Linked DNA regions of Homo sapiens: all the other regions are linked to region 1. The links are contacts of gene promoters, found by promoter capture Hi-C in blood cells and fetal thymus (Javierre and others, 2016). All regions are on one chromosome and are shown on one strand. Each heading gives the region's core, a stretch centred on a gene start or on the middle of the fragment in contact. The rest is flanking DNA. Distances are from core to core; before and after follow the strand shown. Region 1 holds the start of ZFHX2 (zinc finger homeobox 2). Region 2 holds the start of PABPN1 (poly(A) binding protein nuclear 1). Region 3 has its middle 15 kb from the start of SLC22A17.

The links. Contacts are between HindIII fragments. The CHiCAGO score rates a contact against its expected background, and 5 or more counts as called.
Region 2: the fragment with the promoter of PABPN1 here is called in contact with the fragment with the promoter of ZFHX2 in region 1 in 9 of 17 cell types (megakaryocytes, erythroblasts, activated CD4 T cells and 6 more); the score reaches 11.1 in megakaryocytes.
Region 3: a contact is called between a fragment that was not itself captured here and the fragment with the promoter of ZFHX2 in region 1, in 1 of 17 cell types (megakaryocytes). The highest score is 7.2, in megakaryocytes.

What each region holds. Positions count from the first base shown.
Region 1 is chr14:23,549,364-23,553,460 of GRCh38, reverse strand. ZFHX2 (zinc finger homeobox 2) reads left to right here and starts at 1,696. Exons shown (of 10, transcript NM_033400.3): 1 at 1,696-2,118. It also overlaps a transcript of THTPA not described here. RefSeq lists enhancers at 1,343-1,392, 2,242-2,904 and a silencer at 1,523-1,762. The HindIII fragment of the contact is 16,619 bases long and covers 1-3,256 here.
Region 2 is chr14:23,319,128-23,323,224 of GRCh38, reverse strand. PABPN1 (poly(A) binding protein nuclear 1) reads right to left here and starts at 1,768. Exons shown (of 7, transcript NM_004643.4): 1 at 1,405-1,768; 2 at 930-1,044; 3 at 159-226. The coding sequence starts at 1,755. BCL2L2-PABPN1 (BCL2L2-PABPN1 readthrough) reads right to left here. Exons shown (of 8, transcript NM_001387346.1): 4 at 930-1,044; 5 at 159-226. RefSeq lists enhancers at 394-1,203, 1,204-2,015, 2,269-2,338, 2,027-2,677 and silencers at 1,309-1,378, 1,439-1,868. The HindIII fragment of the contact is 8,249 bases long and covers 1-4,097 here.
Region 3 is chr14:23,335,726-23,339,822 of GRCh38, reverse strand. No RefSeq gene overlaps it. Among named protein-coding and RNA genes, the nearest start is that of SLC22A17, 15 kb to the left of the region's middle. The HindIII fragment of the contact is 3,474 bases long and covers 384-3,857 here.

The sequences.
Region 1 (4,097 bases), core at 447-2,946:
CGCCCAGCTAATTTTGTATTTTTAGTAGAGACAGGGTTTCACCATGTTGGTCAGGCTGGTCTCGAACTCCTGACCTCAGGTGATCTACCCACCTCAGCCTCCCAAAGTGCTGGGATTACAGGAGTGAGCCACCATGCCCGGCCAGCCTCTGCTTTTTCATTGAGAAAATGTGGCCTGCCTCACAGTTACCTGTGAGGATTCAGTCATAAACTGTCACATAGTATAAACTCAAAATGTTCATTTATCTCTCCTTTTTGTCATGTGAACTTCAGGGTTTTGTTGTGTTGTTTAAGAGAAGTAGGCTATAGCAGTTAGTATGGGCCCTGGAGCCAGACCATGGAGGTTTTTGAGTCCTGGCACTGTCACTTACTTATTGGCCATTGGACCTTGGGCCTGTTAATTCACTTGTTTGTGCCTTAGTTTCCTCAATAAATGAGACTATAATAGCATCTACCTCATGCTTGAGGTATTGAGAGGAGTAAACAATGTATGTAAAAGTGCTTGGAACTGTCCCTGTGCATTCAAGAAATCTTAAAAATTATTATTAGAATACAGGAGCGGCCGGGTGAGGTGGATCACCCCTATAATCCCAGGACTTTGGGAGGCTGAGGCCGGTGGATCACCTGAGGTCAGGAGTTCGAGACCAGCCTGGCTAAGATGGTGAAACCCCCGTCTCTACTAAAAATACAAAATTAGCAGGGCATGGTGGTGGGCACCTACAATCCCAGCTACTTGGGAGGCTGAGGCAGGAGAATCACTTGAACCTGGGAGGTGAAGGTTGCAGTGAGCCGGGATCATGCCACTGCACTGCAGCCTGGGCGACAGAGTGACTCTGTCTCAAGAAAAAAACAAACAAACAAAAAAACGGGCTGGGCGCGGTGGTGGTTCACACCTGTAATCCCAGCACTTTGGGAGGCCGAGGCAGGCGGATCACAAGGTCAGGAGTTCGAGACCAGCTTGACCAACGTGGTGAAACCCCGTCTCTACTAAAAATACAAAAATTAGCTGGGTGTGTTGATGCATGCCTGTAATCCCAGCTACTTAGGAGGCTGAGGTAGGAGAATCGCTTGAACCCGGTGGTGGAGGTTGCAGTGAGCCGAGATCGCACCACTGCACTCCAACCTGGGCGACTGAGTGAGACTCCGTCTCCAGAAAAAAAAAAAAAAAAAAAATTCAGGAGCACTTAATAAGCGATAAACTGAAGATGAGGAGGAGCCCGAACCTCCCCCAACCCAGCTCAGGGGACTATGTAACCGTGTGGAGGAGGCAGAAGCTCTCAGAGACTAAAGAGTAATTGCTGCGGTAGAGAAGGTTCTAGTACCCAATTTCGCGGGGGGAGATGGGGGAGGCGGAATAATAAGGCAGGAAGAAGAGAATGAAAAAAGGAGGCCTTGGGCGGCTCAGGGCTTGTTCTGAAGCTGATTTAAAACAAAACAACAAAACACATGTATGGTTTCTGCAGGCCACAGGATGAAGAGGAGAGGAGACGGAAAAGAGTTTAAAGGGGCCTGCCCTCTTTGCAGGCACCGGCTTGAACCTGGAGGCGACCTGGTGGGCTGGCCGGCCTGCCCCCGGCCCTGGGTCCCGCGAGGCAGGCGGGCGGGCGCGAACAGACTACAACTCCCGGCATGCGCCGCGGCGGGCGGGTCGCTGCACCTGCTCAGTGGGGCAGCCCCGGGCGCCTGGGTATTGATTATTCCATTGTGTGGGACGCCTAGACTCCAGCCAGTGAATGAGGCGGAGGAGTGAGGGCGAGGAGGAGGAGGAGGAGGAGGGCGAGGAGGAGAAGGAGGAGGAGGAGGAGGAGGCAGGGAGCGAGCGAGTGCCCAGGGTGAATCAATGGAAACCCCCTCACGAAGCCGGGGAAACACTTCAGCCGCAGCCAAATAGCATTGATTATTTTCCTTCACTTCCCTCACCGCCGTGAATTTATTTATTTATTTTTTTCCGTCTCCGTCCCTGACGCCCCGGAGCGAGCGCTGGAGGGAGGGAGGAGGAGGGGAAAAAAGAGGAATCAACACATCGGAGAAGTCCCTTCCAAGAGCCGCCCCCTCCCCTCCCCGCCTCGCGCTGCTCGGTGGCCGCGGTTCGACTCCCGTCCCTGCTTCCAGCTGAGGTGTAAGTGCATCGATTTCCGATGCTGCTGGGTTGGTTTTTTTCTCCTCTCCCTCTCTCTCTTCTTCCCTTCCTTGCTCTTTGGAAGCTCGAGACGGGAGAGGAGGCGCTTGGAGACTGCCGCTGGAGGGGACGGAGAGGGACGGGAAGGGGCTGGGGGAGGGGACAAGGACGGACGGACAGACAGACCGAGAGCCCTGGGAGATAGCAGACAGGGGTGTGGGAGGAAGAGGGCGTGCGCGAGGATGGGGGAAGAGAGATGCGGGGGTGGAGGGAGAAACGGGAACGGGAAAGGCAGAGGCCCGCCGGACAGACGAAGGGTATGGAAAGCCTAGACGGACCGCGCCGAGTTGGGCAGGGAGCGGGGATCCCGGGGGGAAGGGGAGGCCCGGTGAGTGTGAGGGCTCAGAGCTGTCAGCCTGGAGGGTCCTGGGTCTCGGCGGCCCCCCGCCGGCTGTGGGATGGGAGAACCGCGGCCGGCGGGCTGATGGATGGGCTAGCGCGCTGGGGCGTGGAGTGGGAGGGGACGTGGATACTCTCAGTCTTCGTTCGTTTTTGGCTGAAGTTGGGCTTTCCATTCCTTTTTTTGAAAGTGTTGAGTAGGTGAGGGGAGGCCATAAGCCCATTCAAGGTGAAGCGTGTCTGTCCTGCACGCCCATCCTACCACCCCCATCCGCTCGTCTGCCCCTCTGAGCAGCCCTATCATTTTCAAGCACAGGACCACGCTTCCTCGCTGTGCCTGTAGCCCCGCTGATCTCTGTCCATGTGTCCCTGACTTTTGGTTTTGCTGTTCTTCATCTTGTCTCTTCCATCCCATCCATCTCTGGATCTGTATGTCACTGTCTCCACTTGTGACCCTTCCCATCTGAGTGATCCTCTCCTTGTGTGTCTCTATCACTATGTGTCACGCCTTGGCTGCCTGTTCTGTCGGTCTAGGATTCCATGCCCTCTCCTTCAGAGTCTGTCTGGATATCTCTGGCCTTTTCAGGCTACTTTGGAATTTGCTTATCAGTCATGATTGTGGTGGTCACAGTCAGGGCCTGGAGGAGTGGGATGATGGAGCAAATGTGTCTTCGCCAAAGCCTCTAGTGCCTTCAGCATGGCCAGGACAGCCTCCTCTTCCACCATCACCAGAGAAGCTTTGGAACTTCCTAGCATTGTTGACTGTCCCCTTTGCCATGTGCCTGTCTCCCTCATCAGAACCTCACCTTCTGGTCTCATGCGTGTCATCTGCCTTTCCAGGAGCTTCGCACAACAAAACCTCTTCCCTGCTGACTTAATTTTACTCCCTTCCCCCACTGTATCATTGTATATTTTTTATTTCCCCATTTTGCTTCACCCCTTTTTTCCATCTGTTTCCCATGAGCTCTGAGTTTCCACCTTTGTTCCCATAATCTGCCCTCTTCCTACCTTTTCTTCTTGATCACCCTAAGTTTCTAGTTTCTTTTATCCCTTTTCCTCTTATCCAGCATTTTAACCCCAGCAGCAGAAAGTACCAGCAAGCAAAGGGCTGGGAGAGGTGTGGGGTATGGTTTGTGAAGGCACATAAACAGGCCAAGAAATAAATTTAATGAGCTTCCAGGGGCATATAACCCCTCCATCAGTCAGTGCCATTATGTCAGTTAACTGTCAACTTTGATTTTGTAAGGGGACATTCCCTAGGACTCTAAGCTCCACCCTGCCTGGTTGCCCCCCATCCTTCAGTTCATTCTAGATATCAGTTGCTTTTTCTTCACTTTTTAGTTCATCTTCTTCCTAGGCCCCTGCTACTATCATATTTAGATCCAGCACCATTTTTTTTTAATGAGGCAGTGTTTATTAGTGTAATAAAAGCTATCGTATGTAAGGAGCCAAGTTCATTTAGCCTGAAGAACAGTAAGGGTGGATAAAGGATCTGGAGAGTTTACCTTAGTTTTTAGCCCATCATTGTTTTTCCAAACCTCAGGAGCTTGGAAAGGTAAAAGGAGCAGGCAGACATGGGC
Region 2 (4,097 bases), core at 519-3,018, 230 kb after region 1:
TTGCTGATTACTGATCATTCCATTACCTTTAACCTCCTTCCCACACTCCCTCCACACCCAAAACCACATCTATCCCGGAGATGTTCCTTTCAGGACTATTAAATAATTCCCCAAAAGAAGAACTTGCCCCCAACCCCAGTCAGAGCCCCAGTACGTACATTGCCAACATAGATGGAACGGGCATCAGCCTCCATCTTCTCCTCAATGGACATGATCACCGGGCCAGCTATCAGGAAAAAATAATTTTTTACAAAAACCACACACTTGTTTTCTACTTGACCAATATGTTGCACTTCCACCACCAGCACTATCCCATAAGCTCAGTGAAGGCAAAGATTTTGGTCTGTGCTGTTCCCTGCTGTACCCACAACCGAGAATAGTGCCTAGTGCATAGCAGGTACTCACTAAATATTCAATAAATTGAAAGAATTAATACACACTTAAAACAGTATAGGAATCCCTCCTGCCTCCAAATCAAATCCCTAATGAATGGCTTTGGTTGAAATGCTTTTAAGAGTGAGCAAAATTAAGTGGGCTGAGACTCCACATTTCTAGATTAAAGGGGAAACCCCTTGCAGCTTGCTTTCTCTTAGAATCCTAAAGCGTCTCCAATTGGAGGAAAAACTATTAGATTTGAAGGTCAAATGCGAGCACGCAACCTCTACAAAGAAAGATAGACGTAGACTAAGAACAAAGAGCAACACAATTATAACAGGCACAAAGGGAGGCACAAGGCTACCACCACCAAAATATACGTTCTGCCTCACAAAGGTCAGAGGAACACACAACGGACTATGACCGCGGCACAGTCATAATAGCTCAGACAAGCAGCTCCAGGGTGCCGAGTATCTAACCCCACATTCCCCATCCTCCCCACAACCCTTCCAACCCGAGAACCCGGGCTCCGCGTGCAACCGCCAGTTACTCACCATTGCCTGGAGGTGGACTCATATTCATCTGCTTCTCTACCTCGTTCTGTAGCTCCTTTAGCTTCTCAGCTTCTTCCTCCATCTCCCTGACTCGAGCTTTGATAGCTTCCAGCTCCTAATATAAGTGGGGAGGGTATGGAGGACAGCTTAAGAGGAACCAACGCAGGGGCTGTGCCCTGCTCTCGGCCAGAGCGCGGCCTCAGCCATGCTCGGCCATTTCCCTCGCCCCATGCGAGGGTCGTGATAAAAGAAAAGCTACCCTCTCTAGAACAACACTAGGCAACCGTGACGCCCGAATCAAGCCAGTCGGGCCCCTTGTAGTGATCGCTGACCCATCCCCGGCCCGACCCGGCCCCAGCCACGTTATTCCCCGCCCAACCCCACCCCCCGCCTGCCACCCGCTCGCCCGAGCTCTGGGCCTCCAGTGACCCGGCCGGCCAGCCGCCGGCCTGCTCGCTCGCCCTCCTTCCCTCACCGGGTCCTCAATGGCGCCGTCCCCCGGGTCACCCTCGACCAGTCCCGGCTCCTCCTCCTCCTCTTGGCTGCCGGGGGCTCCCGAACCAGGCCCAGGGCCCGGAGCTCCCGGGGGGGCGCGGGGCCGGGGCGGCTCCTCTTCGGGCTCGGGCTCCGGCTCGGGCTCCAGCAGCAGCTCCTCAGGCTCCAGTTCCTCAGACTCCAGGCCGTTCCCGTAGTCCCCTGCGCCCCCCGGGGCCCCCTCCCCGGCCTCCCCACCGGCCCCGGGCACAAGATGGCGCCGCCGCCCCGGCCCGGAGCCCCGACCGCCCGCAGCCCCCGCTGCTGCTGCCGCCGCCGCCGCCGCCGCCATCGCCGCTCAGACTGGGGCCCGCCGCCCGGCGATTGGAGAGCTGCGCCGGCCACGCCGAGGACTCATTAGTCAAGCTGCCTGCCCGTCACCATGAGCTAGTACTCCATTGGGGAATATTACTTGGCAATCAAATAAGGCCCCACCTCTAAGGCGGGGCACTGCGCCAAATTCTCAAATCCCGGTAGGGGAAATCTGCCTGTCAATCAACACGCGTCCCACCTCCTATCGAGTCCTTAGGTAATAATACCGCCACGCTGTGACGATATTCCTGCTTCTCCCCGGCCTACGGGCGGGCCCGCGAAGTATGGGACGCTCCGTGATTGGCCCTAGCTAGGCGACTGGAAAGGACCAATCTTCCGATCGCCTCACCGCAGTGGCCCAGTCTCAGATGCCGATTGGCTTGCGAGAGTCGAAGGGGTGACACTCGTTTCGTGACAGGTGAACCTTGCCCCCGAAAGGACTGCCGGGCTTCAAACTTGGGAAACCCGAGGTCACATGACTAGCCAGTCCTAGGGGGCCGCCATCTTGATACTACTGCTTGCCAGCTAGTGAGCTGTTGGCCGGGTGAGGCCCAAAACAGAGCAGCAGTTTCAGGAAACTTGTATCTCGACCAGGAAGCACCAGTAGATGGGATGTTGCTGAAAATGGAGGTTGTGAATGAAGCATTCCAGGAGGGAGCTTACTTTCCCCATCCAGGTTATTGGCACCATCATCCACTAGCTCTCCCGCACCAGAAAGCAGGGAGGATTCCTCAGTCCAGAGCTACTAGTCACAAGTCCTGTCTGTCCCGCCCTCTTGCGTAGGCCTTCTGCTCCCCAGTTCCATTTTCTTTTTCCTGGACAGCTTCCAATGTCACCCCTCCAATCTGCACCGCTAACAGACTGGCCCCCCTTTGCTGGCGAGGTAAAGTCTCAAAACCGTAAATCACGGCCTTCGATACGCCAGCATGTGGTTACTTTGTGGATGTTGTTTCCTTCCACTCTTCTCGTTCCTTTGGGTGTACCTGCACCCAGTCTGTGCCTCTAACATGTAGTCCCCCTTCAATCAAACCACTGCAAACCCCAGCTTCCCCTCATTTCCCAGGACAAGTGGGCCTATCTCCACGGCGCGCTTAATTGTTTTACTGTTTCCTAACTAGGTTGTGAGCGCCTGCAGATGAGGGGCCGGTTCCTATTTATATTCGCATCTCCACGGCCTGGCAATATGCCTACCACATAATGTCCTGTTAGATGTTTGTTGATTGAACAGGCATTGATTGGGGATTTGGGTGCCACCCTTCATTTAAGCCCTCAAGCCCCCAAGATCCCAGAGGAATTTCTCCTGGCAGGTTCCCACTACACCCCTGCACCCCAAGTACCAATGAGACCTAGCCCTGGAAGGCAGGACTGCCATATTTTGGTAGCAGTCCTACACATTTATTAAAAAGAAAGGAATGGCAGTGTACGTTTGCAAGAGAAATTTTTGTGGGCACACTAACCTACAGTTCGAAAGATACATATAGCCCAACCAAAAAGTTAAACAAACATGGTTGGCCGAGGGATTTGGACAAGAGAAGATCCTCATTAGCAAACCAAAAAATCAAGTGACTCATTATACCCCACTATTCCCCTCACCCCCACTTTTTCTCACAATTCCTTACCTCAAGATCTGGGGAACTTGCAGCAGAGTCACAGTCGCTTAAAATTTCACTGCAAATTACTTCATCAGCCATCTCAGCTTCAGTGATCTGGGATAACTAAAGTTGAGCACCGAAGACAAGCTCTAAATGATTGAATACCCTGGAAGAAAGGTCTTTTATACTAATCTTAACCTAATCAAGATTTGTTAATCTTATTGGTACCCAATTTAATCAAGCCAACAAAAGGAAATGTGATTTTTAAAAATGGCTTTGAATCCTATTTTTGTTGAGCGTTTGATTTTGTAATAAGCACCACTCCTTATTATTTCACTGGACTCTCACAACAACCCCACGGGGAAAGTATTTCCAAAACCATAACCTTTTTTAGGGAAAAAGAAAAAGGCTTAATGAAATGAAGAAACTTGCCTAAGTCATTGGACTAATTAGAAGTGTGCAGGGCTGGCTGGGCGTGGTGGCTCACACCTGTTATCCCAGCTCTTTGGGAGGCTGTGGCGGGAGGATCACCTGAGCCCAGGAGTTTCAGACCAGCCTGGCCAACATGGCGAAACCCCATCTCTACTAAAAATACAAAAATTAGCTGGGCATGGTGGTACATGCCTGTAAACCCAGCTGCTCGGGAGGCTGAGGCAGGAGAATCGCCTGGGCAACAGCAAGACTCTGTCTCAAAGGAAAAAATAAAAATTATATATATATTATACATAAT
Region 3 (4,097 bases), core at 871-3,370, 210 kb after region 1:
ATCTTGTTTTAACCAATTCTTTAGGTTTTTGTGGGTGTATTTTTAATATCAAAGTTCAATTTTTAGAAAAACTATTTACTATAATTTCCTTTAATTAGAGCCAATTAATTGCATTTTTATAAATTCCTTTTTTACTAACCTTATTACAACTTAGACCATTTACAACATGCTTGGACTTTTGGCTTGTCCTAAATATTCCTCTTTCTTGAACAACCCATTCATTTTATTTTAGAACAAAAATTCACCATACAAGACTCTTTCTCATATAAAATTATTTTAAGCTTTCTTACCAAAAATACCTCTTTATTTCTATAACTTTCTTTGCATCTCTCTTATTTCCTGGTTCCTTTTACCTTGTTTTACACATAACATTTAAATAAGCTTTGAATAGATAAAAATTATTCACCTTTTAATAAGAACATATTTTTTAGAAAGAATGTTCTCCTACACTATAATTTTTTTAATTGGAAAATACCTAGACATTTAATGAAATATTTAATTTAACTTTAGATTCTAATTTATGACAAGTTTGTTTACAAGTTTCTATTACATTTACCTAATTATTTTAATAGTTTACCTAGTGATATGGTTAGGCTTGTGTCCCCACCCAAATCTCGTCTTGAATTATAATCCCTATAATCCCCATGTGTCAAGAGAGAGACCAGGTGGAGGTAATTGACTTATGGGAGTGGTTTACCCCATGCTGTTCTCATGATAGTGAGTGAGTTCTCATGAGATCTGATAGTTTTATGTATTTGGTAGTTCCTCCTGCATTCATTCTCCTTCCTGCTGCCTTATGAAGAAGGTGCCTTGCTTCCTCTTTGCCTTCTGCCATGATTGTAAGTTTCCTGAGGCCTCCCCAGCCATGCTAAACTGTAAATCAATGGACCTCTCTCCTTTATAGATTACCTAATCTTGGATAGTTCTTTATAGCAATGTGAAAATAGACCTCCAGAGAGAGAAACTAGATTATTTATGAAAATTGTGATAGTCATTATTTAAAGTTATTTCCCTGTCAACCATTTTTACAGCTTGTGAATTTTAGGTGATTACCTAAGTAAGTACCTTAAGATTAAATATATGATTATTTTACCAATAATTCAAGATTTAGCTGTTTTCATTAAATCAACAATATTAATGTCTTTTTTATTAAAAATGACACAAACAAAAATCATTACATTTTTTGCTGGGTTTATAGTTTTATAACCCTTATGCCAAATTTTGACACCTTATAGTATTCAGCAGAGATAAGTATGAAATCACTTGATCAATAAATGCAAACAAAAATGTATGCTGACAAGTCTTAAGACATTTCAAATATTACTTTACCAACAATCTTAAAGCTAGCTTATTAAAGATTTTACTTAAGTCATGTAAACTTGAAATGCATTTGGGCTTATTATTTAATTTATGGATAATCTATAATTGGTAGCCAATTTGTTACCTTGTGACCCAAAACACAACAGAATCCATGTATGTACACATAAACACACATACACACTCATACAACCAAAGATCCTATAGCTTTTACTTCAGAATGTTAGCCATGAGATATTAATACAAACTCATTGGTTTGCAAAAACAATAACAAAAGAAATGGTTGGATACAAACAGTGGATTTTATCTCAGTAGAAAAGTAACAGCAGACTTAAAGCAGACAGAAAAGAAAGCAAAGAAATAGAGAACTTCGGAAGTTTATAGTTGCAGATTGACCTTCAGGCTCTGAATTCTCTTTGAGGTGATTTGCCCATCAGTTTAAAATGTGCACAAGAGCAGACCCGATGTGTAACCAGCCGGAGTATTAGAAAACCTGGTGTGCCATTCCATTTACACAACCACTTGCAAGTAGAGGGTCATAAAACCAAACAGGGTGCCTGAGAAGGGTCATTCTCCTTGTCTGTCCTCATTCCTAGATAATTCATTTCCCACATTTTTTCTTAAAAGGAGGAACTAAGCTGTGGCCTAGAGTTTGGTGGAGTGGGGAAAAGTGTGCTGGTTGTGGGTGGGACTCCACAGTGTGTCACACACAGTGTGTCTCAGTTTCTTACTCTGGAGGTCTAGCATCTCCGGGAGGGCTGATAGCATGGGGTGACCAGCTCCTATATGTGCTTCCTGGATGAGCCTTTTTAAACTAATTTTGTTTGGAGTTCCCTGTAGGGCCACTGCACATCATGGGGGCTCAACCCCCCAACATTCCCACTTAGCCCCCTGGCACTCAGGGGCACCTTTTGACTGGGAAGAGCAAAATGCTCTTTCTCTTTGGAGCTGTGGAAACTCAGTCTCTCATTTATCTATGAAAAAGACAGTTCACTTCCTCCCACAAATGCACAGAGCAGCCAATCAAGACTAATTTCAAGAGGAAAGGCAATGAAAAAGACACTTTTTTTTTTTTTTGAGACAGAGTGTCACTGTCACCAGGCTGGAGTGCAATGGCACAATCTCGGCTCACTGCAACCTCCGCCTCCTGGGTTCAAGCAATTCTCCTGCCTCAGGCTCCCAAGTAGCTGGGACTACAGGTGCACTCTACCATGCCCAGCTAATTTTTGTATTTTTAGTAGAGACGGGGTTTCACCGTGTTGGCCAGGATGGTCTCGATCTCTTGACCTCGTGATCCACCCACCTCGGCCTCCCAAAGTGTTGGGATTACAGGCATGAGTCACCGCACCCAGCCGGACAAGACACTATTTAAAATGTACCTCCAAACTAGAATTAGGGTCCTAAATATCTTCCCAGGAGGAAAAAAAAAAATCTAAGACCACTCTCTGTAAACTGTTCTTAGCCACCCCTAACTTTGTAGCACTTGTCCGCCATTACACACACCAAGGTAAAATCCTCACACAGCGCAAAGTAATCTTTGGTATCCCCCAAAGCCAAAGAGATCAGGTAATGCAATACAGGAGAGCAGAACTTTAGACCGAAGAAGAATCTGCCTATAACTCTTGAAACTTCAAAAAGAAAACAGAACACTCCAAAAGGGATGAGTGGCACCTTTGTTTTGAGTTATTTGAGGAATTCAAGTCATTAGAAGCCTTCTCTAGATTTTTTCTTGGTACTGAAGATGGCAAAGGGGAAGGAGGAATAGGATGGATGAAAATTAAGACAGCGAACACAGAAACTAAGCCCATGGTTTCTTTTTTTCTTTTTACAGCTGTGAGAAATTTTAACTTATTCAGAGGCCTTGTTCCCCATAATTTGGAATTCTCATTAGGATTTGACCAAGACAGGTAGAGTTAGTCAAATCCAATGGGAGAAAGGGACAACAACAAAAAAAACCAACAATATGATCACTTAGCGCTCTAATGGTAAGGAGAAATTAAGACCAGCTGGTTGTCAACTTTAACCTTTAGTCATTATGGAGAATTTTCAAGACAAAAAAAAAGCAAGCAAGCAAGCAAGAAAACCAAATCAGCTTCTTACCTAAAAATGGGTCTCAGGTTGAAGACTACTCTCTACCCTCCTAGAAGCAGGAAGAAACTCAAACTTGCCTTCCCTGTTAGATATTAGCTAAAACTCCAAAAAGGAGTTACCTGTTACCTGCCTTCCAACATCATGGGAGCAGGAAAACTTGCCTTCCTTGTTGGAAGCAAGTATAACTCCAGAAAAGGAATCGTAGAGCAAAATAAACTTTAGATCTCAACCAAATTTTGAGAGATCAGGGGTTCTCTGGAGAAAGGGGAGTTCCCAAGCCTCAGCAAATTGTCCTGTTGATTTGAGCCATAAACATAGCTCAAGCTGGTGCCGAGCACCGATAGGAGATTTGTCAAAGGTCAGGGCTACATCCACTCAGAGTCCCTTCATGGGCACCAATTTGTAAACCAAAAATTATCTGAGACAAGTCTCAATCAATTCAGAAAGCTTATTTTGCCAGGGTTAAGGATGCACCCATGATACAGCCTCAGGAGGTCCTGAGGACACGTGCCCAAAGTGGTCGAAGTACAGCTTGCTTTATACATTTTAAGGAGACATAATACATCAATCAGTACGCATAAGACTTAGAATGGTTAGATCTGGAAGGGTGTGATAACTCAAAGGCGGGGCCGGGGGCTTCCAGGCCATAGTTAGATTTAAACATATTCATTCTGATTGGCAATTGGTTG